Linked DNA regions of Homo sapiens: regions 2, 3 and 4 are each linked to region 1. The links are contacts of gene promoters, found by promoter capture Hi-C in blood cells and fetal thymus (Javierre and others, 2016). All regions are on one chromosome and are shown on one strand. Each heading gives the region's core, a stretch centred on a gene start or on the middle of the fragment in contact. The rest is flanking DNA. Distances are from core to core; before and after follow the strand shown.

Region 1 (6,356 bases), core at 1,889-4,388:
TCATTGAGGGGGTTGAGAATTTCCCTAGGTCTCTGTGACATGAACAGACTGGGTCTCAACCTGTGCACTGGGAATCACCTGGGGAGTTTAACAAAAACTGATACCCAGAACTCATCCTCAGAGGTTCTGATGTAATTGATGTAGGGTGCAGTCTAAGCATGGGGGATTTTAAGCACCCCATGTTATTCTCAGTTATTCTGATGTACTGCCTGGACTGAAAAGTTCCAGATTAACACTGTTTTAGAAATCTTGGAAGTTTCAGTTGAGGGAAGGCAGCAGAGGGAATAGCTTCAGAGACCAGTAGGCAAGATTCATGTCACAGCTCAGCCACTTACAAATTGGATGAGTTTGAGCAAATCAAATTTCTCAAGCCTCAGTTACATCATCTGTAAAAGAGGATAATGACATCCCCCTAGAAGTGAAGCACTTGAAGTAAGATTATTGAGCATCTACTAAGTGCCAGGTGCTTGGGTGCTCTTAGGGGACAATAGAAAACAAGACAGCTATGGCCCCTTGTGATATTTACCTTCCTTAATTCAGTTTAAGAAACCTTTACTGGGTTTGGGATATCAAGCACTGTATGGGTTCAAAGATGGACAAGAAATTGTACTTGCCCTTGAGAAAAGGAGAAGTAGACACTAATTAAAATAGAGGAAGGAAGATGACAAGAGATGTACCAACCAAGAGTGGTGAGGTTCAAAGGAGAGAGGTATTTAGAGGGCAGACCAGGGAAGTTTCTGTGGAAGACATGATACTTTAGAAGGCTCTTAGAGGATAGATAAGATTTTGTAGAATGGGATGAAGGGTAGTGGAAACGAACAAAAGCATGGAGGCAGGAACAGCCAATAATCCAACCTGGCAAAAGAGCTGGATGTGCATGCAGAGGAGGGAAGGGAATGTGCATACACAGCAGGAAAATAAGGGTTGGGGCCTTAAATGCTAGGGTGAGGCATTAACACTCGATTTGGTCAGCCATGGGAACCATGCAGGGACTGGAACTGAGTTGGATAATTCTTAGCTCTTAATACCTGGACTGCCTCTGGCTTCATTCTGGAATTTGTGTCTTCATTGCCACTGTCCTCGGGGCCTCCCCTTTTCTGCTGATGGCCACCTTGGTCCTGTGTTCAGTGCCCTGTCGCTGCCCTCAGGTGAGGGTCTGATGAACTCACCCAACCTTAAGCATAAGATGCATCTCCAGATGGTAGCTTCCTAGATAGTTGCATTCTGGCAGGTACAGTGGAAGGGGCACCAGACTGAATCTGGAGGAGGCCTGGTTCTAATCCTAGCTCTGTCTCTCACCAGCTATGTGATGTTGGGCAAGTCACCTCCCTTCTCCGAGCCTCAGTTTCCTCATCTGAAAAGTGGCCAGGGTCAATTGACAATGACCCTTCCAGCTGCAATGGACTCTGACTAACTTGTCAATTGCTAAACCCAAGAATGTCTCTTTTGACTCATGTAAGGGGCTGCTGCTGCTGACAATGAGGTATTAAGCATGAGGCTCAAGGGAAAGAGATGGAGAGGCCACATGTAGGTGATCAGCAGGGTCAGCTGAGCCCAGCCTTGGATTCATCACAGCCCAGGTACTGGGTATGAGAATGGAGAAATCTCCAGATGATTTCAGCCCCCAGCTATTCAGGTGTTCCCAGTTGAAATCCCAGACACTGCAGAGCAGAAATAAGCCATACACACTGTGCTGTCTGAACTTCTGTCCCTCAGAATGCATGAACATAGTGAAACTGTTGTCCTGTGCCACCAAGGCTGGTAATGGTTTGTCACCAGTGATAGGTAAATGGAAATGGAGGAAGAGGTGTTTAGGGATAGTTTGGTGGGGGACTTCTCATGTTGGTGAAACTTCACCAGTGGGTGTCATTCCCTTAGGTCCGTTGACATCAGAAACCACCTCTAGTCTTGGATATTACTCTATATATCATGCTGCTCTTAGGAGAGGAGGCTCGCTGGCTGCACTGTTCTGAATTATTGTGAAGTTTATAAACAAGGAACTCTTTGCCGAGGATGTCCTGGACCCGGAGGCACTGCTCAGCTGGGGGGTGGGGTCCATCTGTATTTGTCCCAATGTCCAAAAGGCTGAAGGGTGTGTGTGTGCTCACACTGGTAGAGGTCCTCTAGGTGCATCTTACACACTCCATCTCATCTCAGCCCCACCATAGCTTCATTAGGAGCTACCGGAAGGTGCGTTTCTCCCACTTTACTGATGAAGAAAGAGCCATGCCCAAGAACACACATGCGGAGTGGCAGGGCAGGGCTTTGAACCTGGTGGTAGGACTCTGAATCTAAGGCCCTTTTGAGGAGCCCCATGGGTGACTTAGGGATGGAAATTCCAGGGGTTGGAGGGGTCCTCATTTGCTTCCTCTAAACAGCCTCTTGTTTTGAAATAAGACAAATGAACTTGGCTTAAGTTCTGTTTTCCCTTCCTTCCTCCCTTCACCCCCTCACTCTCATTCCTTTTTTCCTCAGGGATTTTTTGGCAGAGGGCAGAGAGAGGAACCCATTCCCAAGTCCTCTATTAGAGAAGGCGTGATGGTGAGAGGGGGGCTTCACTCAGCAACCGTGCCAGGACAAAGGGCAAACGAGGGCAGGCCGCTCTCAGGCTGGGTCGGGGGCAGTGAGGAGCAGAGCGGCCCTTCTCATCGCAGCCCCCACCTTGCTGTACGCTGTGGGCTTGAGGTTTCCAGGAGAGTCTGCGGTGTAGGGAGCGCTCTGGCTGGGAGGGAGGAGACGGCCTATTCCTCAGTGGGGCTTCCTCGCTCACGGTGTGTATGGTGGGGAGAGGAGCACACAAGTACCATTTTCTGAGGATTGTGCCAGACCATGTCATACGTATAAGCTCATTCAAATCGATTTCCAGATAAGGCCGGGGGAGGGTAGCCGACTTGCCCAAGGCCACGCAGCATGTGCGCGGTAGAGCCGGTAGGGACGCGCAGAGGGTCTTGCTACCGACTCTCCCCGCTCTCCCGGGAGTCTGGGAGCCCTGAGGTGTCCCCTACCCGGCCGGGAAGCTGGGCTCTCGCCCCGGGACTGTCCGGAGGGGGCTCCAGCAGGGGGCGCCCCGAGCCCCGTCCCGGGCAGCCGGGCGCGCCTCCAGCCGGCGCCTGGGACGGGGCTGGCCGCTCCGCCCCCTCGGCTCCTAGGCTGCTCGGCGGGCGGGTGCCGGGCGCTCTGGGAGGAGAGGACTGCAGGGCCGAGCCCAGCGCACCCCGCCGCGTCCCCCGTTCCCGCCGCGCCCGCCGCGCCCGCCGCGCCCGCCGCGCCCGCCGCTCCCGCCGCGCCTGCCGCGGCCGCGACCGCGGCAGCTCAGCCTCCCGCCGTGAGTAGCACCCGTCTGCGGGCTCGATGGGCGGGACGGGGCGCGCGGCCTGACGGCAGCAGCGCCCGGGTCTGGGGCTGGCGGGGCGAAGAGATCCGGGGCACTCGCTCGCAGATCCCGGGCCCGCCGCCCCAATGCCTGACGCCGTGGCCCGGGGCATTGTGGCCGGCACCCGAGCGCGGGAGCTGCCCGCCGCTGCCCTGGGGCGCCCTCCGGAGCCTGGCACTTTGACCTGGGAGACAGGGTAGAGGCGGCGGGCAGAGCCAAGCACCCAGCAGGGAGATGGGAGACAGACGTCCATCGAGTTAGGCCCCCTGGAACGGGCAGAGCACGCCCGGCTCCCGGCCAAGTCTTCTCAGCTTGGGCTGACTCTCTCACCTCTTGCTCCCGCCTGGCACAAGGATGTGATGCGAGGAGGGTGCTCAGATGTCTGAGCTTCCTCTGGGGCTGAATGAAGCTGGGGTCCCCGCCGTCAGGCGCCCCGGCCTGGGGTAGAGCTAGGATGGGCGTGGGGGCGGCCAGCAGGTGTGCTGCAGGTTGGGGTGGAACGGCTTGGAAGGGCGTTGCCAACAGTTGACTAGGACTCTGGGCTAGGCATTTTGGAGGTCCCAAGGCTTGCATAGGTCTGGCTAACCCTCACCGTAACTCTGCACGGTGGAAATTGGTATTCTTACTTTACAAAAGAGAAAACAAGGTCCAGAGAGGTGAGCCTCGTTGAGGCCGTGCAGGTAATGGTAAGGCAGTGGTGCACACTGGAGGAGAGGGCACCATAGCTGGCTGCCTCGGGGGCAAGCGGGCAGGTGCAGGGACAGCGCCTGACATCTTGTATCCTGGAATCCTGTGGAGGGCAGCCACTCTGGTTTCTGACACTGCGACTCCCAACTGCCTCTGTGGAAGATATTCCTGGGAGAGTCCTGTTGACCTAAGAGGCCGTGGTGCCTTGGCCTCTTCACAGCTAACTTCACAGCCCTGTCCTTCCCCAAACCGCTCATCTCCCAAGATGTTTTTTGAGCACCCTCAAGTGGCACCACTGATGATTCAGCACCTTCAGAGGAGACTTGGGCAGAGGGGTCAGGGGTGTGTGGATGTGGCTGGAGGTCTGCTCCTCTGGGGTAAGTTCCTGGCTGGCAGGAATGAGACCCGCACTGACCCTGCCCACCTCCTTGAGGCCTCCCGATTTGTTAGCTGTGGGGTGAACAAGCAGGCTTCCCAAGGGAGCTGGATCTTTGCCAGAGAGACCAAGTTTTTCTTGTGTCAACTCAGGCAGGTGGCTGACCTTCTGTGGGCCCCAGCTTCCTCATTGGAGACTGTGATGGGTCAAAGCCTGGAATGTAGAGAGGAGCTCTGTAATGCCGGAGCCCCATCCCTTCTGTTGGCAGCCTCTCCAGAGCCTGAGTGTGATGATTCCTAATGGGGGTGTGTGTAATGAGACGGTCGTGTGTGTTTTGCCCAACCATTGCCTGCCCTCTTGCTGTGGTCCCGTTTCACTCACTTGCACTTGGTGAGGTGGGATGAGGAACTGAGAGAGTTCACTTTGCAGAGTGAGCTGGGCCAGTGGTGGAGAGGGCTTCTTGAGTGTTGAGAGTTTCCTATGAGGTGATCTTCCAGCCCTAGACACCTCCTCCTAGCTTGTCCCTCAGGAGGCCACTGACTTTGCCAACCCTGGTGACATCTTGGAGGAGTTGGGGTGGCTATCAACAGAAGAAGCCCTGGGAAGAGGAGCGGGATGGGTCACCTGTATGATGCTCAGTGAGTCCCTTCCCCTTTCTGGATCTCAGCTTCCTCTTGTAAAAACAAGTGGGTTAGACCAGACAGCAGTGGTTTTCAAACTTCTGTTTCACAGTGAATTCTTACCCAGAACGCCAACATATAGTATGGATAACGTGGAACTGCTCTGGCTTCCCCTTCTCACCCTGGTGATCCTGAAGCAGTTCTAAAAATCCCTAAATAGATGATCTATGGGGTTCTAGGAAATCTGTGGTAGCCCCCTGAAGTGTTGCCTGGTATTAGAGTTGTAGGCAGGAATTTGAATTCCAAGGACTCCATCAGGAGAAACATGGGCATTAAGGTGGGTATCATCCTGGGAGCATCTGGAGCTGATGGCCTGTGCTTCTGGCCAAAAGTTGTAACTGTGTCCCTTCCCTCTGCCATGTGATTTCAGCTTTTCGAGGCTGGAAAGGTCCTTGTGCCTCTGGCTCCTTATCTGGGTCCTAGCTGGTGACTATAATTCCACTTCAGTTTCACCCCTTTAGTTTGTTTCTAAACTGGTAAAATGCAAATTCGCCTTAGGAGAGGTGTTAGGAAAGTGCTTGAAGTGGCTATCAGTTGTTTTACCTGATGAGCATCTGAGTAGCGGCCTTGAGAAAGGAGGCTGGGGAACTAAGTTAAAATCAGCCAACACTTATATAGTGCCTACTGTGTACTAGCCTACGACAAGGGGACAGAGGTAGGAATGTCACAATTCTTGCCCTTATGGGGCTCCAAGTCACAAAGAGGAGGGAAGGAATTCACGTTATCCATGGACCGTTTAAAACATTACACATGGGTTATCTCATTTGTCTCACATTAGTCTCATTTTAAAAAATTATGTAAAATTTTGATCACATACAAAATCATCCCATATATCCATCTAACTACCACCCAGATCAGGAAACAACATTGCTGGCACTCTGAAGCCTCCGAAGCTCCCCTTCCAACTCTCCCCTGAGTGAGGGGATAGCCACTCTGCTGACATCTAGCACCATGCATTAATTTTACCTAAATGGGATCACACAGTATGCAGTCTTTTGTGTCTGTCTACTTTCATTCAACATTATGTTTCTGAGATTCATCCATGTTGTTGCAGGTAGCAGTAGTTTGTTAATTCTTATTGCTGTATAATGATTCCATTGTATGGGTATATAGTACCTCAATTTGTTTATCCAGTCTTCTATTGATAACCATTTGGTTGTTTCCAATTTTTAGTTATTACTAATAGTATTGCAGTGACCATTCTAACGTGGATCATTTGGGAAAACATCTGCATGCATTT
Region 2 (6,356 bases), core at 1,206-3,705, 240 kb after region 1:
CTCCTGACCTCAGGTGATCCACCAGCCTCAGCCTCCCAAAGTGCTGGGATTACAGGCGTGAGCCACTGTGCCCGGCTAGCAATACTTTTTGAAGGACAAAAGTTTTTAATTTAGATCAGGTCTAGCTTATCAATTTATTGTGTGCTATTTAAGAAATCTTACCCAGGATTGCTAAGATTTTCTCCTATGTTTTCTTCTAGAGACTTTTTAGTTTTAGCTCTTACGTTTCGGTCTGTGAATCATTTTGAGTTGATTTTTGTATATGGTATGAAATTAGGGTCAAGGTTTATTTTTCCTGTTTGCATATTCAGTTGGTCCAGCACCTTTTGTTGAAAAGATTATCCTTTTCCTATTAAACTGCCTTGACACTTTAGATAAGCATCAGTTGGCCATATATATGTGGGTCTATTTCTGTACCCTCAGTTCTGTTCTGTTGATCTATCTTGATGAAAGTACCACTATCTTGTTGCCACTACCACGTCTTGATTACTAGTTACTAGTTTTATATTAATAATAAGCTTAAAAGTCAGATAATGTACATCTTTAATGTTTTCTCTATCAGTTAGAATTGTTTTGCTATTCTCAGTCCATTGCCTTCCTGCCTTGCAAGTTTCTGAGACTGTGAAAAGTGTTTTGCTTCTTTTGTTACCCAATTGAGATCATTTAATAATCTTGAAAGAGTGGTTAGGAGGAATGTATTTTATCATAGCAACAAGACTTTTAAGAAGGAACTGAATTGGCAATTGGTTCATTAAAACCTTCTGAGGTTTTAATTTCTAAAAAGTTAGTATGGGGCTGGGCGTGTTGGCTCACGCCTATAATCCTAGCACTTTAGGAGGCAGAGGTGGGAGGATAGCTTGAGCCCAGCAGTTCAAGGCTTCAGTGAATTATGATTGTGTCGCTGCCACTCCAGCCTGGGCATCAGAACCAGACCCTGTGTCAAAAAAAAAAGAGAGAAAAAAAGAGCATGATATACACCACGATGTTGATAAGAAGCAGCATGATTTAGTGGTTAAGGGGTCACCTGGCAGACTAGTCTGGTTTGAATCCTTACTCTATCAATTACTGGCAGTTGTGACCTTGGGCTATTTAGCCTCTCTGTACCTCCACTTCCCTTCCTGGAAAATGGGGATAATACAAGTACTTTTTTCTTTTTATTAGTTTTTTAAATTTAAATTTTATTTTATTTTTTGAGACAGGGTTGCTCACTTTGTTGCCCAGGGGCACAATTATGGCTCACTGCAGCCTCGTAGGCTTAAGCGATCCTCCCATCTCAGCCTCCCAAGTTGCTGAGACTATAGGGGTGCACCACTATGCCTGCCAAATTATTTTTTGTAGAGATGGGGTCTCATTATGTCACCCAGGCTAGTCTCAAACTCCTGGGCTCAAGTGAGCCTCCCACCTTGGCCTCCCGAAGTGTTGGGATTATAGGCATGAGCCACCACACGCAGCCCCTATTTTATAGAGTTGCTCTGAAGAGTAAATAATACATGTATTTTCTGCCACATAGAAAGTGCTTCAGTGAATTGTAACTGCTATTATTGCTTTGTTCACCTAGAGAATGCTAAAAGCTTCAGAATTTGATAAACTCACTTATAGGAACTTAAACTTACTTGCAGTAACTCGTTTATTTCAGTTTTAGAAAGATAGTTGTAGTGCTGATTGGTTTTTTTCCAGTTCCTTGGTAGTTTTCTAACCTTTCTTTTCATTGGTGAATCTTTGGTAATTTATGTATGTATGTCAGTTTGGATTTGTGCATTGTACCAGGAGTGGAAAAAAAACAATTGGCTTTTAGTGTTATAAATTTTTACCTTAAATTAATAAACAAAACAAAACTGCAGTTTTTCCTTTGCCAATATTTAGCTGGTTGATCAGGATTGTGAACTGGTGGTTCTAGAATGCAAGTGAAAACCCATTAGTTTGATTTGATTTTGTCTGTAGTTCTTTACTCACCGAATAGGCACGTCTGTTTCCAGGTTTATTTGACTAGTTCTCATTATTGATGTAGCAAAAACAATTTGCCAGCAAACTCAGCAAATCTTTTCCTTTTCTAAGTGTACTTTCTTAAATAGCAATAATAACAACGAAAAAGTTTTTTCTTTTTTAGCAGGAGTTCAATTTTGCACAGCTAACCATTGATAATTTGTGTGGTTTAATGAATAAGAGTACCAACATCAATCATTCAGCTGAATGAAGCCTTCTAGAAGTACATGTGGCAGGAGTGGGGAGACCTGGACCACAGTGTACATTTAAGTTTCAGTTATAGAACTTTGCAAATGGGCTCTTCCTCCTGCACTTTCAGAAATGCCCTTGAGAAGTCTTTATTGACACTTTCTCTTATGATTCTCTAAGTACTGTGTATTGGGGGAGACATGGGTTGGTAGACGTCGAGAGTTCAGTTTTAAACATGATGTGTTAGAGATTCCTTTGGTACATCTGAGTGGGTATATCATGCTGGCAGTGGATGTCCAGGTCTGGAGCTCAGGAGAAGTTTTGACTGGATTCATTAGCATATGAGATAGGTAAAAGCCTTGGGAGTTGCTGGGATCCAAAAATGTATGTACATGAAGAGGAGGAGACTGAAGTGGACTGCAGATAGAATCCCTAGGATATATCCACTGTGGTACCACCACACTTGCACTTGCTCACATTAGGTCAGTTCAGAGTAAGATAATATGTGAGATTAAATTATATTCAATATGCATAATGGACTACCTGGATTCAGATTGCTTAGCTTAATTCAGGAAATATTTATTGAGCTCCCTCTATGTGCTTTACCTATGCTAATAAACACTAGGGATATAAGCAAAATCGATACTGCCTCTGCTCTGATAGTCTTTATAGACTAATGTGAAAGATTGTCTTTGCTGTTTTTACTCACAGCACTTCTGACAACAAGTGTGTGAGTTTTTTGCGTACACCAATCAGTTCTTCAACTTTCCAGATACCAACGGGCTGTCCCTGCAGTTCATTTCCATTCTGACACTATCCAGAGTTAGCATCAGACTACACAGGTTTAAGGGCTCAGTCCCACAAGACTACTCATACTTCAGATGCCAGTTGCATGTATTGAGTCCCACACTTCTGAATTGCCTACAAACGGGGGAGTTCCTACAACTACCCCCTCACCTTTGAGTAATTTGCTAGAATGGCTCACAGAACACGGGAAATATCCTATTTACAATGACTGGTTTATTATAAATGATACAACTCAGGAATAACCAAATGGGAGAGATGCATAGGGCAAGATACAGGGGGTAGGGGCATGGAGTTTCTATGCCTTTTCCTGACATGCCACCCTCCCAGCATCTTGATGTGTTCACCAACCTGAAAGCTTTCTGAACCCTGTCTAGGGGTTTTTATGGAAGCTGCATTACGTAGGCTTGGTTGATTAAATCGTTGACCATTGGTGATTAACTCTATCTCCACCCCTTTTCCTCTCCCTTGAGGTCTGGTGGTGGAACTGAAAGTTCCAACACTTTTATCACTTGGTTGGTTTCTCTGGCAACCAGCCTTCATCCTGAAGCTATCTAAGGGCCCACTAAGAGTCACCTCATTAGCATAAACTCAGGTATGGTTGAAAGGGGCTTGTTACGAATAACAAAAGATGCTCCTATTCCCCTATCACAAAGGAAATTACGAACACCAAGTATGTATTTCTTATGCCACAAATGGACATTAAACAAATCGCACAAATTATATATAATTGCAAACCATGCAAGGTGCTATGAAGGTAAAGTACTGGATGCTGTGTGAACATTTTGGGAGAGACCTAATCTCACATGGGTATAGTCAGGGATACCTTCCCAGAGGAAGTGACATTTAATTCAGCTAGTGATACTGTTACTGAGTACCTAATTAATATCTCTGGTACTGTACTGTTTAAACTGATATCTTGTGACTAAACATTAACTGGGTGAAAGAGGATGGAATGGAGAAGGCAGGCTCTAAATAAAGAGAACTGCCTGTGCAAAGTTCCTGAAATACAAAGGAGCATAGTGCCTTCCAGGAGTTAAGGATCTCAGGCGTCTATAGAAGAGAGAGCAAGGGGAGAGGTCAGTTCTTGGCCTTCTTGTCAGAGGAGAGATTTTGTTCTTTAGAGTAAACCTATTCTTCAGAAAAATTTTAAACTCTTCCCCTTTGAAACAGACTTCATTAACTTTTTATTACAGAAAAATATTAACAAATGCATTAGTGGAGAGAATATTTCCCCATACCCCAGTTTCTTTCTTCTTCTTTTTTTCTTAAGAGACTAGGTCTCACTGTCACCCAGGCTGAAGTGCAGTGGCATGATCACAGCTCACTGTAGCCTTGACCTCCTGTGGCTCAAGGGATCCTCCTGCCTCAGCCTCCCCAGTAGCTAGGACTACAGGCATATACCACCACATCTGGCTAACTAAAAATATTTTTTTCTGTAAAGATGGAGTCTCACACTGTTGCGCAGGCTCAGGCTGGTCTCAAACTCCTAGCCTCAAGTGATCCTCCCAAAATGCTGGGATTATGGATGGTAGCCACTGCACCTGGCCATGTTTTAGAGTACCTTGAGTCTGATTTAGGAATGGCTCCTGAAACCTGCTTAGAGAATTTCTCTGACTCCTTTCTGGGTTCTCTGCAATTTTAGTTTTGCTTGCAGCTATCCTTGTTAAGTGTTTGCCATTATTTTTTGGCATTTTATTGTCCTATCATTTTCCATCTTCTGTCTTTTCCTCAAATTCTATATTTTTCTTTGCTTTCAAAGCCTAGTCCCTTAATAACTGATCTCCACTACTACCCATGGAGATCATAATTTTCTTCCAGGGGTTTTGTAGATCATTGCCTCCTTTGGATACTGGCAGAAAGGATCAATATTTTTCTTTTTCTTTTTCTATTTTTTTTTTTTTAGAGGCAGAGTCTTGCTCTATCACCCAGGCTAGAGTGCAGTGGCACGATCATAGCTCACGGCAGCCTTGACCTCCTGGGCTCAAGTGATCCTCCCACCTTAGCCTCCTGAGTAGCTGGGACTACAAGTGCAAGCCACCATGCCTGGCTAATTTTTTAATTTTTGGAGAGACAGGGTTTTGCCATATTTCCCAGGCTGGTCTCAAACTCCTGGGCTCAACTGATCCTTCTACCTCAGCTTCCCAAAATGCTGTGATTACAGACGTGAGCCACTGTGCCTGGCCAATAGCTACTTTTTGTTAAAGCCTTAAGTATCAGAACTGAACTGAGGAAAGAGATAGGCAGAAGAGGGTGTCTCTGCTAAGCTACAGAGTTTATAATTTTGTTGAACAACTCCGTGTCATTGACTGATTTGAAGTTAACTTGTCTGAAAATTAAATGTGCAAGTATGACCTAGTTCTGAAACGTATCTTAAAAAGTAAGCCCAGAGATGACGCTTTAAAAAAGTCAACTTCTTTTTTAAAAAAGAAATTATTTGTGCCCTTTTTGCTTTGAGTTTGGAATTGGGACACCCCCAAACCTGATGGTAAAATATCTTATTTATAAATCCACTGAAGTAAGAAATAGTATGCAACCACTAAATGCTTAGGGCGTATAAAAAACTGACCTTAATATACCTATGAGTTACCATTTTGGTAGCCAAAAATATTTAAATGTAGAAACTAGTAGTAATTAATTAGTTAATTTAACAAACACTATGATGGTCTAGGTTGTATGGCAGAGAATTAAAATAAGGTGGAATCCATTCCTCACAGTGAGGAGTGAGTGCATTATCTGTTAGGGGAGTGACAATCCTAAATAATTGTAGGTCAAAGTGAGAGGTATCCTGTTAGAGAATTAGAAAGCACTAGTTTTCAAGTTCTGAAAAGCCCTGTAAGGTTTTTTTTTTTTTTTTGTAAAGTTTGAAGATATGAAGAGGAAGGACTTTAGTAAGTGAAGGAGAAGAGGATAGAAGCAGTGGTTTGAAGGCTTGGAATGACTTGGTGGTTTTAAGAACTTGTAAGATTTTCTTAAGTGTCTGTTACGTAGGTGGGAGAGGGTAGAAGAAAATTACCTGGAAAACACTTTAATTCCTGATTGTAAAGAGGCAGTTGTTGGTTAAAAGTAATTAGTCTTTAACTGGTTAAGCACTGAGTAGTCATTTGGGGTTTTCACTAAGGGAGTAACATCAGATTTTGGTTTGTAGAAAGATGGAGGATACACTAGAACTGGGGAGAACCTGCTATCAGGGAGCTGAATAAGGAAGCTACAGCAAGGAGAGAATTTTCAGTTAAATTTTATCCTAAAGCACTGATTCTGGGGTTGAAGGGAGAAGTAGCAGGTGGTAGTGTCACACTTCTCTAAAATAAGTGCTTTAGTGAGGTTGGGTGGGGCTGGGGACTTGGACATGTGTGTTTTGACAAGTTCTAACACTTGAT
Region 3 (6,356 bases), core at 2,112-4,611, 210 kb after region 1:
ATCACTTGCACTCTCCTCATGTGATATTATATCGATCTATTTTCTTCCCTCTCTCCTCCCATTAGACCATAAGCTCCTTGAGGGCAGGTGTTTAAGCTTGTTCAATAGTATATTTAGTGCCTTGCACAGTGCCTGACTTATGATAGGCATTCCACAAAGACCTGTTAAATGAATGAATGAATAATCATACCTCACATTTAAATAGTGCTACAAATATGGTTACAAAGTACTTTCTTATGTTATTTGACTCCCATGATACTCTCCGGCAGGCAGTGGGTTTTATTATTACCCCTATTTACAGATGTGAGACTAGGCTCAGAAAGACTGTGTAATGGCAGGGCAACTAGGCTGCAATTTCTGGAGCTACCAGAACTCATGTCCATGGATTCCTGCTCTGGAGCTCTTTTCTGTTTTCAGAGTGATATATTTCCTGAGCCAAGTGCCAAGGGCAACACAAACTTACTCCCAGTGTCTGTTTACCCCTGCTGCTCTGCCTCCACACTTTACTGCTCTGCTGGATTTCTTCACTTCAAACTTAGCCCTGATTTTTATCTAGGAGTTGCACATTTCCTAAATGCAGATGAAAGATGAAAAATATATATTCTACTGTTGATTCTCCAGTTCCTTTGCCTGGGACCTCCCAGCTGTGGTGTGGTGCTGTGAAGTATGAGGCATGAAGTGGGGGTGACATACGTGAGGGGAGGAAGATGTGGCTGACTGGTATGGCCAGGGTATGCTGCTCAGAGGGCTATCAGACCAAGGGCTTGTGATGCTTAGGACTTGGCTGTGGCTCTGAGATCCCTCCATCCACTCTTCCCATCTCCAACATTTTTCTTTAGGGAAATCTGAATAAAATGAACTGGTAGAGTTGGGAGGTTAATGCTGACAACAAGGTTCCAGGATATGCTGATTTGAGTATGAAACAGTGTTTTAAGCATGGTGCGGTGGCTCACGCCTGTAATCCCAGCACTTTGGGAGGCCGAGGCAGGCAGATCATTTGAGGTCAGGAGTTCGAGAGCAGCCTGGGCAACATGGTGAAACCCTGTCTCTACTAAAATATAAAAAAATTAGCCGGGCATGGTGCAGCACACCTGTAATCCCAGCTACTAGGAAGACTGAGGCAGGAGGATCGCTTGAACCCGGGAGACAGAGGTTGAAGTGAGCCAAGATCACGCCACTGCACTCTAGCCTAAGCAGCAGAGTGAGACTCCACCTCAAAAAGAAAAAAGAAAGAAAGAAAAAAACAGTGTTTTGGGAAAGAGTGGTGTGGTCAAGGTGAGGGTGGCTAGTAGTCAGGGCTCACTTGCTGACACTAACAGTATTTGCTAATTGTATGCAACTGAACACAGTTGTATTCAATTCTCTTTTACACACAGCTCTGAGGGTGGAAGCTAAGGAGATGGTAAAAGAGGGAGTCTCTTGATTGGTCTTTAAAGTAAGCAGTCCTTTTCTTGAAATAGAATGGGCAAAACCAGGCTGGGCACGGTGGCTCACCCCTGTAATCCCAGCACTTTGGGAGGCCAAGGCGGTCGGATCACAAGGTCAGGAGTTCGAGACCAGCCTGGCCAATATGGTGGAACCCCATCTCTACTAAAAATACAAAAATTAGCCAGGCATGGTGGCACACACCTGTAATCCCACCTACTTGGGAGGCTGAGGCAGGAGAATCGCTTAAACCTGGGAGGCGGAGGTTGCAGTGAGCCAAGATGGTGCCATTGCACTCTAGCCTGGGCAACAAGAGCAAAACTCCATCTCAAAAAAAAGAAAAAGAAAAAGTGGGCAAAACCAGTACAATTTTACAAATTCAAGAAAGACAGAATATCATATTTGTGAGTGACGTAGATGACATCAACAAGTTAAAAGGAGGAGCTTTTGCTTGTTGTTTTTGAGTATGCTTCACACACAATACCCAGATCATAAAGCACTAGCAACAATGACATCACTCCTCATGTAGCTACTCCCTTACATCATTTACCAGAAATACACATTTTATACATAGAAACTTAAAAGCTACACACCTAAGACCCATCATTTAATGAGTACTTAATATGTGCCGTATGTGAGCTTTACATATATTTTACTCCTCAGAGGAACCTTGTGATAACAAGAACTGGCATTATAAATTGACACATAAGGAACTGAGGTTCAGAGAGGTCAAGCAACTTGCCCAAGGTCACACACCTGGGGTAAGTGGGATTCCAGAATTCCCACCAGTGTCTGACAGTGAAGCACATGGCTCCTAACTCTTGGACTAAACTGCCTCATGTGACACACAAACATGTATCTAATTTAACCATGGGAAAGCACTCCCTCGTCTGTCTATACCGTAATTTCTTACATTAGTGACACATTCATGGCTTGTATGTTTGTGTGCTTCTCCTACGCCTCCAATTGGATTGCAAACTTCTGGAACGCAGAGGCCAACTCTATTTTTTGTCCCCAAGTCATCGGTCAGTTTAATTGATGCTCGTTAGAATATCTGGAAGGAAAGACACCATGAAGGTGGCTGGAAAGGAGTAAAACCAGGTACAGAAGGAGGAAGATGGAGATGGGGTATTCACTCAACAATTTAATGTCCACTTGGACCTATGTTAGGCGCTGGAGATATGGTGAGGACTGAGCCAGTCTGTGTCCTTCCCCTCATGGGGTTTCACGTGGAGGTCGAGGTCATGATCAAGGATGTAAGTCACCCAAAGGACACTACTGTGTTCCCAAGCAGAAAAGAAAACCGAGGAGCCAGGCCCTGGCATCTGCAGGGTTCTGGCAGTCCCATAAGGCGCAAAGACATGAACAAGGTGGAAGAGTAGGTCAAGTGAAACGCTTTTATGTGATTGAACTTAGCCGGCCGGAGGGCCGGGGCCGCTGCGATGAGAGATAAAGAGCGTGGGGCGCCGGGTGCGAGGCGGAGATAAAGGGGTGAGGCCCTGGCCCTGCCGCCGGCCGTAACACGTGTCCCTTCGCCTGGCGGCGGGGTCTTCCCTGCCCACCACGAGGAAAAGGGGGCGCACTGCATGGCCCCCCACTCCTCACCACCCTTTGTGAAACGCCCCCAATTGTGCTTCATCTGTGGAGTCAGGTCCCCGCAGGCGGTCGGGGCTGCCCGGATTCCGCGACGGCTGAAGGGTGAGGGCCGCGCGGTAGCAAAGTGTCCCCAGCACCTAGCTTGGCTCCCCTCGCTCCCAAATCCCTTTCCCCTTTTCGCTCAACCCCCAACTCCACCTCAGCCGCCTTCCTCTCGGTTCCCCTTTCACCTCCCGCGCTGGGCCTGTTGGGCGGGGCGAGGGCTCCCGGCTGCGCGAGAGTTCCGCCCAAATCTCGTGAGACTCGCCTGACGCCGCCGCTGCTGCCGCCGCCTCTTACGTCTTTCCCTTTGACAAGTCGCTGCTGCTGCAGCAAAAATAAAGGACGCGACCGCCGCAGCCTCTGCGGAGCCGGGCTCGGGTCGCCGGAGCCGCGCCCCACCCCGCCAGCTCCAGAGCCACGTACGGTAACGCATCATCTACCGTCCTCCTGGTCCTGTGTGTGTGTGTGTGTGTGTGTGTGTGTGTGTGTGTGCGCGCGCGCGTGTGTGCTTTGCCGGCCGCGCAGGGCCGGCCGGGGCCGTTTCGGGACTGCAGCCGAGCGGGGCTGCTGGGGTCCCGGGTGGGCGGCAGGCGAGCTGGGGGAGCCCTCCTGGCGCGCCGCGGATCCCCCGGGTCCCCGGCTCTAGAGGCCTCCTGCCGCCCGGGCGCCTCGGAGCAGCGTAGAAGCCGAGGCGCCCGCGGAGAGGGCCGAGAGACCCGCCCCTCCAGCGGCTTACAACGTCTGTGCCCCGGCCCCGCTGTGGTCGCGTCTCTTTCTGCTTCATTCCTTTATCTGCTGACCAGCTCCTCTGCCCCGGCTGGGGCTCGGTCCGCGGGCGGCGGCCGACTCCCTCTCAGGGTCCGGGGAGTGCCGCGACCCCGGTGTCCCCAGGCGCCGGCCGCCTTTAGCGGGGTGGAGGCTGGGACGACGTGTCTTCCTCCTCTCCTCTGCCTTTGGGTGAGGGCAGCTCATCATCTGCTAAACCTTTCTCCAAATCTCCCGCCCCAATAAAACAACAAATTATAAAGCCTTTGCAACCGGGAGGCGAGGCGGGGCGCATTGTTTAGTCTTAAGCGTGAGATGAGGATGATGATGGTGATGACAGGAGCTACCCCGGGGAACATGGTGAAATCTGTTCTGTGATGGGTGGCAGGTTACTGGGAGACACGAGGAGGACAGGAGCTTGTACCACCTCTCCCAGGAGGTTATGTAAAAGACATGTTATCTTAGAGAGCTGTGAAACACAGGGACAGATTTGTCTTAGTTTAAGAAATGTCTATAATACTTAGAATATAGAGATAATTAAATGATGGGAATAACAAATCTGAACAAACTAACCCATCTTTGTAATTCCATCTCCAGAGGTGGCATTTCATGGTTAACATTTTATTGTATTTCCTAACAGACACATTTTTTTTTATCCTTGCTTGGGACTTCCTCATTCTATATTTGTTCCAAAAATGATTTATTTTATTTGAATCAGTTCTCTGGCCTGCTTGATTAAAACTGGCTGCTAGTTCATTATCACTGGCTGAACTCTGCCATCACTATCTTTTTCACTGGGCCCTTTTCCAAAATGATTGTTAGCTAAGTGGTTTGAAAAATCAAACGTTAAAACATTGTCTGTTTGGGTCTAGTACCTATGTATATATTATATTTTTACAATTCTGTTAGTGGTGGTTGCTCAAAATGGGGCAGTATTTGTAGAAGGGAAAGAAACTATGATTATTCATAGTGGGAAGAAACCTATTTACCTCAGGTTTTATGAAATTGATTTCTACTGGATATTTTTAGACCAAAATTGTTCTGTGACATTGTTTCATAGTGCCTGTTGTGATTAGTGTGGGATGAGTATGTCTCTTTGATATATGTGTTTCCATAGCCTGCGTTTATACAAGCAAAATTGAATGTCCTAGGTGCCTGTCTTATGCATAAATGTACGTATATATGTATAGAGACACACACACACACACACGTATTCTGCACCTATACACATTTATATATCTTGGAAGTGAGTTAAGATGTATTGCTATATTATTTGAGAAAAGATAGCATTAGGAAGGGCAAAGAACAGTCATAATATTTCCCCCAAATCACATGACAAGGTTGTATGGCAGAATGAGATATCTAGGGAGGTTGGAAATCTGGAGCCTTTTAAAAATAGGATAGATTGTCATCTGGGGTTGTTGTTATTGGAATGGATTAAATGGCCTATTAAGGCCTCTTGTAATTCTAAACTTTTATGAATTTTGCGTTCCCTAAGGTTCTTATCATTTTGCTTCTTAAATTTCCAGTCATGCTGTTTGCATGTGACACATCCATTCATTTGCTGGTCATGTATTCCATTTCCAATGCAGGCACCCTGATGTTGCATGGAAGAGAAAGCAAATGTAAATGCGTCACTTAATCTGCTTATTAATATAAACATCTCTTGAAAATCTCAATTTAAAGAAATTTTGGAGAATGTGTTGGTGATTGGACTGGATTGGGTTAGTAGAGGGTGCAAATAATAAATAGTAATAACAATTCCAACGTTCCAAGCATGTTTTCCCCCAAAAAAGTCATACTGAATACTCCCTAATATTTGAAATAGAAAAAAAAGGGGGCTGGGTATATTGAAGGAGCTGACCTTTTAAAATTTTTAAAATTCAGATTTTCAGATCTTAAAATGATGATAATGATGACATCGTGGCTTGGAGAGTGAGAAGGTTGTGTTAGGATAAAAAGAAACTTGTGAAACAAAACTTGAATGTTATAGTTGGATAACTATATAATAGCAAGTAACAAACTTACTATAATCTGTTGAAGCTATTTTTAAAAATTGTAAATAGAACTTTTGGCCAGATTACAGTAGCTCACGCCTGTAATCTCAGCCCTTGGGGAGGCCGAGGTGGGAGGATGGCTTGAGCCCAGGAGTTTAAGATCAGTCTGGGCAACATGGTGAAACCTTGTCTCTATGGTAAATACAAAAATTTGCTGGACGTGGTGGTGCATACCTGCAATTCCTGCTATTAGGGAGGCTGAGATGGGAGGATCAATTGAGCCTGGGAGATTGAGGCTGCAGTGAGCTGTGATTGCACCACTCTACTCCAGCCTGGGAGACACAGTGAGACTCTATCTCAAAAGCAAAATAAAACAAAACAAACAACAACAAAGGTCTACACAACTTTGGCTTAACATACACATGAAATACATTGTTGTGAGCATGTATTGCAGATTATCATGATGTTGAAAACATAAAAAGTTGGTCAAATCATTTACAGAGAAGTTTGCAAAGCCAGGAAGGTCACATC
Region 4 (6,356 bases), core at 2,800-5,299, 180 kb after region 1:
TAAAGTGTTTACAGCCAGGGTGTGGTGGCTCATGCCTGTAATCCCAGCACTTTGGGAGGCTGAGGTGGCTGGATCACAAGGTCAGGAGATTGAGACCATCCTGGCTAACACGGTGAAACTCTGTCTCTACTAAAAATACAAAAAAAAATAGCCGGGCGTGGTGGCGGGTGCCTGTAGTCCCAGCTACTCAGGAGGCTGAGGCAGGAGAATAGCATGAACCCTGGAGGTGGAGCTTACAGTGAGCCGAGATTGCGCCACTGCACTCCAGCCTGGGTGACAGAGACTCTGTCTCAAAAAAAAAAAAAAAAAAGTGTTTAGAATGGAATCAACTGCCTAATAAATGTTCAATGAACATAAATTCCCTTCCTTGTCTTCTTGTACCCCATCTTGAGGCAAGTTTGGCACAGCGATATGACTCCTCTCCCCAGCCTGTCCTTCAGTCATCCTTCTTCCCTCTCCCCAGCCAGACACATAGGAGGCAAGTAAGTGGCCCTAAAGGCCAGGGCCTGAGTGCTTGTGTTTTTGTGTTTTGGTAGCCAGGCCTTGAGCCTTTATCCTGATGACATGGGGCTTCAGCCCACAGCTAGGCTGGGATGGAGGAGGGAGACCCCAGAAGGAGAGATATCACTTTTTTTTTTTTTTTTTGAGAGATAGTCTCTTTCTGTCACCCATGCTGGAGTACAGTGGCGTGATATCAGCTCACTGCAACTTCCACCTCCTGGGTTCAAGCAATTCTCATGCCTCGGCCTCCCGAGTAGCTGGGCTTACAGAAGTGCACCACCACACCCAGCTAATTTTTGTATTTTTAGTAGAGAGGGGGTTTCGCCATGTTGGCCAGGCTGGTCTTGAACTCCTGGTCTCAAGTGATCTGCCTGCCTCAGCCTCCCAAAGTGCTGGGATTACAGACATGAGTCACTGCGTCTGGCCAGATACTATTCTTACTTAGGAGAGGTTACTGCGTAGTTGGAAGGTTAAGCCACACCCCTTGGGAACACCGTCAGGGAAAACACTTAGGGAAGCTCTGCTCCAAAATTTTTCAGGCTGGGGTCCAGAGGGTCTGCTGCCCCGGGACTAATGCACATGTTCCCTCAGAGAGAGCCTTTAGGGATGGCTGTGTAAGACAGTCCCCAGCCCCACCCTGCCCACTGTCTCCACCGTACCCTCTATCATCCTCTGCATGCCTCATGCTCCTGCAGTGCTCTTCTCTCTCTGCCTCTGTCTCTCTCTCCCCAACCTCATAAATCTAGGCTTTGTTCCTGCTGGTCCCTCTCCCTACAATGTCTTTCCCTTCCTTTACCCTCCTAGTGAACACCTGCTTCTCTATCCAGCTCAGATGTCCCCTCTTCTAGGCAACCTTCCCTGGCGCACTGCTCTCACAACTGACTCCAGTCCCCAGGTCTGGCACCCCACCTCTCTGTGCCTCAGTTTCTGTAGCTGGAAAATACGATGATGATGACGGTACTACCATAGCTAATCACAGGGTAGTGGTAAGAATTAAATGAGATGATAAAAGCACCTTGTGAGGGGGCTGTATCAGTGAGTGTCATGGTCAGTGGTAGGTATGTGTCAGCAGATGCATACCTCATTGGTGAGCATATAATACTGTATGTTGCTGGGGGAAGCCCACAATGTGAGGACACGAGAGAAGCACTGGACTTAGGGTCAGAAGGCCTGAGTCTCTCTGCTGCAGATGGGCTCTCTGTCCCTGAGCCAAGCTTTGTCCTCCCTGGGCCTCAGTTTCCTCCTTTGTTCATTTAGGCATGGCCTCCAGGGCCCCTCCTGGCTATCCTAGCTTGGCTCAGAAGCTCTGGGTCCTGGGCTCTGAGCTCCGAGGCCCTCCCTGCCCAGCTCCTGTTCTCAGTGCTGGCTCCCTAGGCTGGACAGCTCCCATGCTATTAATATTCCTGGAGACAGCAAAGTCTCCCAACTCTCAGCATCTGGACAGCACCTCAGGCCAGGAGCATGGAGGCCCAGGCACACATCAGACCCAGAGCTCCAGAGTAGGGCATGGGAGAGTGGGGAGCTCCTTCCTGGAAGAGGAGGTTGGCACCGGCAGCGAGGAGCTCCAGTGCTTCGGAGGGGGAGCAGGAGGGGGTTGGGCACACCCTTAGTGGAGGAGCTCAGAGACTGTGGCTTTTGGGTTTTGCCTGCAATCCTTAGGGCCAAGATCACCAAAATCATTTAGACCCTGACATCCTAATTGGTCCTAATCCACATATAGAATATAGGATTCTCACTTGATCCTATGGAAGAGAAAAATTTTCCACTGTGAATGTTCAGAATCTTCTTAGCAATCAAGGGCTCTATCCCACACATAGCAATTTTGTCACATCCTAGACTATGGGACTTTTTTTTTTTTTTAAGTGCTTCAGTGTGTCTTTGATGCTGGATTTGGTAATTGGTTCTTGGGTTTTAAAGACTTGGTATTTCCACGGTGAGTCATAATTGTTCGTTGACATACCTCATTGCCTAATGCCATTTATAGCCCCAAAAGATAACATACATCACATGAGGATTTTTTAAGCTCACTTCTTTAAACAGATTCTATATTGTACTGTTTGCTAGGTCATTCATCCATCCAGTATTCTCTCTGCTTCCTCATTTCTCCTGTGTGCTGGAGACTGTGCTCTCACCTTCACACCCCTCATTTTATTTAATCCTCACAACCATCTCAGCGAGGCAAGAATTATTATCCCCTTTTCAAAAATGAGAAAAATATGACTCAGAGAGGTTAAGTGATGTGCCCAGGGCCACACAGTAAGCGACTGGAATTAGGATTTCAACTTAGGGCACTGAACTTTTCATCATAGCAAATTGGCCTCCTCTCTCCTCCTAAGCTCCCCACTTCTCATAGCATTCAAGTCCTCCTCACTATTATGTGTGTTTGTGTGTGTGTGTGTGTGTGTGTTTTAGAGACAAGGTCTTGCTCTGTCATCCAGGCTGGAGTGCAGTGGTGAGATTATACCTCACTGCAGCCTCAAACTCCTGGGTTCAAATCACCCTCCCACACCAGCCTCTCAAGTAGCTGGGACTATAGGCACATACCACCACACCTGGATAATTAAAAAAAAATTTTTTAAAGATGGGGTCTTGCTGTGTTGCCCAGGCTGGTCTCAAACTCCTGGCCTGAGGGAATCCTCCCACCTCAGCCTCCTGAGTACCTCCACATTATTTTGAAGCAGAGAACACTGGGGATAATTATGAGTTTTTTGTTTGTTTGTTTGTTTTTGTTTGATGAGAAGAATATTGTCTAGGTTTATTTTATTTTTATTCTTGATGAGAAGAATATTGTCTAGGTTGATTTTGTATTATTATTCTTGATGAGAAGAATATCGTCTAGGTTGATTTTTTTTTCATGAGCTTATTTATTCATTCAATACATCTCAATGAGAACTGGCTAAACAGGGACACTTGGTGTTAGCCCAGAGACCTAGAGGTCATGGCCACTTATTACATGCCGGGACCCATGGTCATTCCATAACCACCCTGCTCCCACCCTGAAAAAGAGTCACAAACAATTAGGACCCAGACTGGTGGGTGGTCTTGTAGGAGAGGGTCTTGTAGGAGAGGGTCCAAAGAAGTGAGGACAAAACCCTACCAATTAGAAGTCAAGTCTGAACTCCAGACAGGAAAAAAGAAAAAAAACCCATCAACTCAAAAAACCCTCTGTTCCCGTTAAGAGCATAAGCTTTAGATTACAAAGTCTTACATAGTGGGAGATATCCTTGGGAAGGAGGTGTTGTGAGGTGGAGAAATAGAGGCACTGATGTTGGCACCCAGAAAATCTTGGGCCATCTCTCAGGCAAGTGGCTTGATCTCTCTGGCCTATGTTTCTTTATCTGCAAAACAGAAAGATGCTTTCTGTTTCTCAGGGTGAGGGGAGTAAATGAGCTAACATGTGCAAAGCCCTCCATTCCTGAAATGTGGCAGCTACTTTAAAATTGTTATTTCAATGCCATGAGTTATGTGTGGAGCAGTTGGTCCAGAATAGAGGGGGAACAAAATTTGGATCAAAGAACAGCCCCTGAGGGATTAAGCATTCATATAAGATAGACATGAATCATTGCAAAGGCACACCCTTTTTCCCAATGTGTCAATGAGACTTCTTCATCCAATGAGTTAGTCTAACCGGAGGTGAGGTGGGCTCTAATTCAAGACCTATAATAGACCAGGCATGTGCCATTGATAGATGCTAATGATGATTGCAAACAAAGGGGGGTGGCTGCATAAATGTAGCTTCCTCTACATGCTCTGGAGGAATGGGAACATCTATCTGAGACCTCTGGTTGGGGACTATAGGCTTAAGAAGGCCAATATAATAGGGAGGACAGCATGGTAGCGAGAAAGAAGGTGGACTTAAAGCCAGAAGAGCCAGGCTCAAGTCCCAGCTCTACTTTCCAACAAGCTTTGAGACCCTGGGCCAGCCACCAAGTGTCCTGTCTGGTTTATGAGAACAGTTGTCTTAGTATCTGCCTCACCTTGGTCATAAAACTGTTGTCAGAAAGACAAAGTAGGTCCCTCAAAAAATTAAACATAAAATTACTAGAAGATCCAGCAATTCCACTTCTAGGTATACAAAAAATTGAGGCTGGGCTCAGTGGCTCACACTTGCAATCCTAGAACTTTGGGAGGCTAAAGAGGGAGGACTGCTTGAGGCAGGAGTTCAAGACCAGCCTGGGCAACATAGTGAGACCCCCCCTTCTCTACAAAAAAAAAATTAAATTAGCTGGGCATGGTGGCATGCACCTGTGGTCCTGGCTACTAAGGGGGCTGACGTGGGAGGATGGCTTGAGCCTGGAAGGTTGAGGCTGCAGTGAGCTGTGATCACACCACGCACTCCAGCCTGACTGATAAAGTAAGATCCTGTCTCAATGAATGAATGAATGAATTGAAAGCAGGGACTTCAACAGATATTTTTACCCTCATGTTCATAGCAGCGTTATTCACAAGAGCCAAACAGTGGAAACAACCCAAGCATCCATTAATGGATGAATGGATAAGCAAAGTATGATACATACACAACGGAATACCATTTAGCCTGAAGAAGGAATGTAATTCTGATACATGCTTCAACATGATGATCCTTGAAAACACTATGTTAAGTGAAAGAAGCCAGACACAAAAGGAGGACAAATGTATGATTCCAGGTAGATGAGGTTCGTAGAGGAGTCAAACTCATAGAGAAAGAAAGTAGAGTAGTCATTATCAGGAGCTGGAGGAGGAAGCAATGGGGAGTTATTGTTTAATGGGTACAGAGTTTCAGTTTAAGGTGGTGAAAAAGTTTTAAGATGGATGGTGGTGATGCCTACACAACATGAATATACTTAATGCCAAAGAATTGTACAGTCAAAAATTGTTAAAATGCCCAACTACTCTGGAGGCTAAGGCAGGAAGACCGCTTGAATCCAGGAGTTCAAGGCTGAAGTGAGCTATGATTGTGCCACTGCACTCCAGCCTGGGTGACAGAGTGAGACCCTGTTTCAAAGAAAAAATAAAAAGTAAAAAAGATAAATTTTATATTATGTATATTTTAACACAATAAAAATTACCTTTTTTAAAAAAAGAAAGATATAGGCCAGGCGCGGTGGCTCACGCCTGTAATCCCAACACTGTGGGAAGCTGAGGCGGGCAGATCACGAGGTCAGGAGATTGAGACAATCCTGGCTAACACGGTGAAACCCCGTCTCTACTAAAAATACAAAAAAAAAAAAAAAGGAAAAAAAAATTAGCCCGGCATGGTGGCGGGTGCCTGTACTCAGGAGGCTGAGGCGGGAGAATGGCGTGAACCCGTGAGGCGGAGGTTGCAGTGAGCTGAGATCGCGCCACTGCATTCCAGCATGGGAGACAGAGCGAGACTCCATCTCAAACAAAAACAAAACCAAAAAAAAAAAAAAAAAAAAAAAAAGATATACTGTAGAGGAGAGTCATTTGCAATCTGTACAGCAACATGAAATAATTAGCTGTGGTAGAGGGGTTAGGATGCAATAGTTACATTATTATAACTACCCTCTACCACAGCTAATTACTATTGCTCTACAAGATTTCATATTGCTTTACAGGTTCTCTTAGAGCAATTGTCAAAATTGAGACCCTCATCCAGGACTTCTACAAACTGTTTTCCAATCTGAAAAATAGCAGGAAGGAGTAGATTTTTTTTTTTTTTAAGACACTGTAAGAGCTGAACGTGGTTTCCCTGGAAAGTGGGAAACGGGAGTGGTAGGGGCTGATGTTTTTCCTAACAGGTTTGTAGAACTGGAATCTTAAAAAAAAAAAAATGTTCCTGATTCATTATTTTCTAATGCTCTTTATTTATATCTGCTCTGATCATTGACTTCTATCCCACAATAAAGTTGAAC

What was found. The method cuts DNA at HindIII sites, captures the fragments that hold promoters and counts their contacts. A CHiCAGO score of 5 or more calls a contact.
Region 2: a contact is called between a fragment that was not itself captured here and the fragment with the promoter of DAPK2 in region 1, in 6 of 17 cell types (M1 macrophages, total CD8 T cells, M0 macrophages and 3 more). The highest score is 7.6, in M1 macrophages.
Region 3: a contact is called between the fragment with the promoter of HERC1 here and the fragment with the promoter of DAPK2 in region 1, in 11 of 17 cell types (megakaryocytes, M1 macrophages, M0 macrophages and 8 more). The highest score is 10.7, in megakaryocytes.
Region 4: a contact is called between a fragment that was not itself captured here and the fragment with the promoter of DAPK2 in region 1, in 2 of 17 cell types (M1 macrophages and M2 macrophages). The highest score is 7.1, in M1 macrophages.

Annotation. Positions count from the first base shown.
Region 1 is chr15:64,043,267-64,049,622 of GRCh38, reverse strand. It overlaps DAPK2 (death associated protein kinase 2), which reads left to right and starts at 3,138. Exons shown (of 12, transcript NM_014326.5): 1 at 3,138-3,325. RefSeq lists silencers at 2,965-3,174, 3,195-3,254, 3,285-3,504 and enhancers at 4,705-4,754, 4,805-4,854. The HindIII fragment of the contact is 10,777 bases long and covers 1-6,356 here.
Region 2 is chr15:63,798,025-63,804,380 of GRCh38, reverse strand. All of the region lies in intron 1 of HERC1 (HECT and RLD domain containing E3 ubiquitin protein ligase family member 1), which reads left to right. Among named protein-coding and RNA genes, the nearest start is that of HERC1, 33 kb to the left of the region's middle. RefSeq lists a silencer at 2,183-2,372. The HindIII fragment of the contact is 1,763 bases long and covers 1,574-3,336 here.
Region 3 is chr15:63,830,953-63,837,308 of GRCh38, reverse strand. HERC1 (HECT and RLD domain containing E3 ubiquitin protein ligase family member 1) reads left to right here and starts at 3,361. Exons shown (of 78, transcript NM_003922.4): 1 at 3,361-3,482. RefSeq lists enhancers at 3,173-3,302, 2,476-3,339, 3,340-4,205 and a silencer at 3,543-3,972. The HindIII fragment of the contact is 17,710 bases long and covers 99-6,356 here.
Region 4 is chr15:63,866,304-63,872,659 of GRCh38, reverse strand. It overlaps MIR422A (microRNA 422a), which reads left to right and starts at 1,641; the gene lies at 1,641-1,730. The HindIII fragment of the contact is 717 bases long and covers 3,691-4,407 here.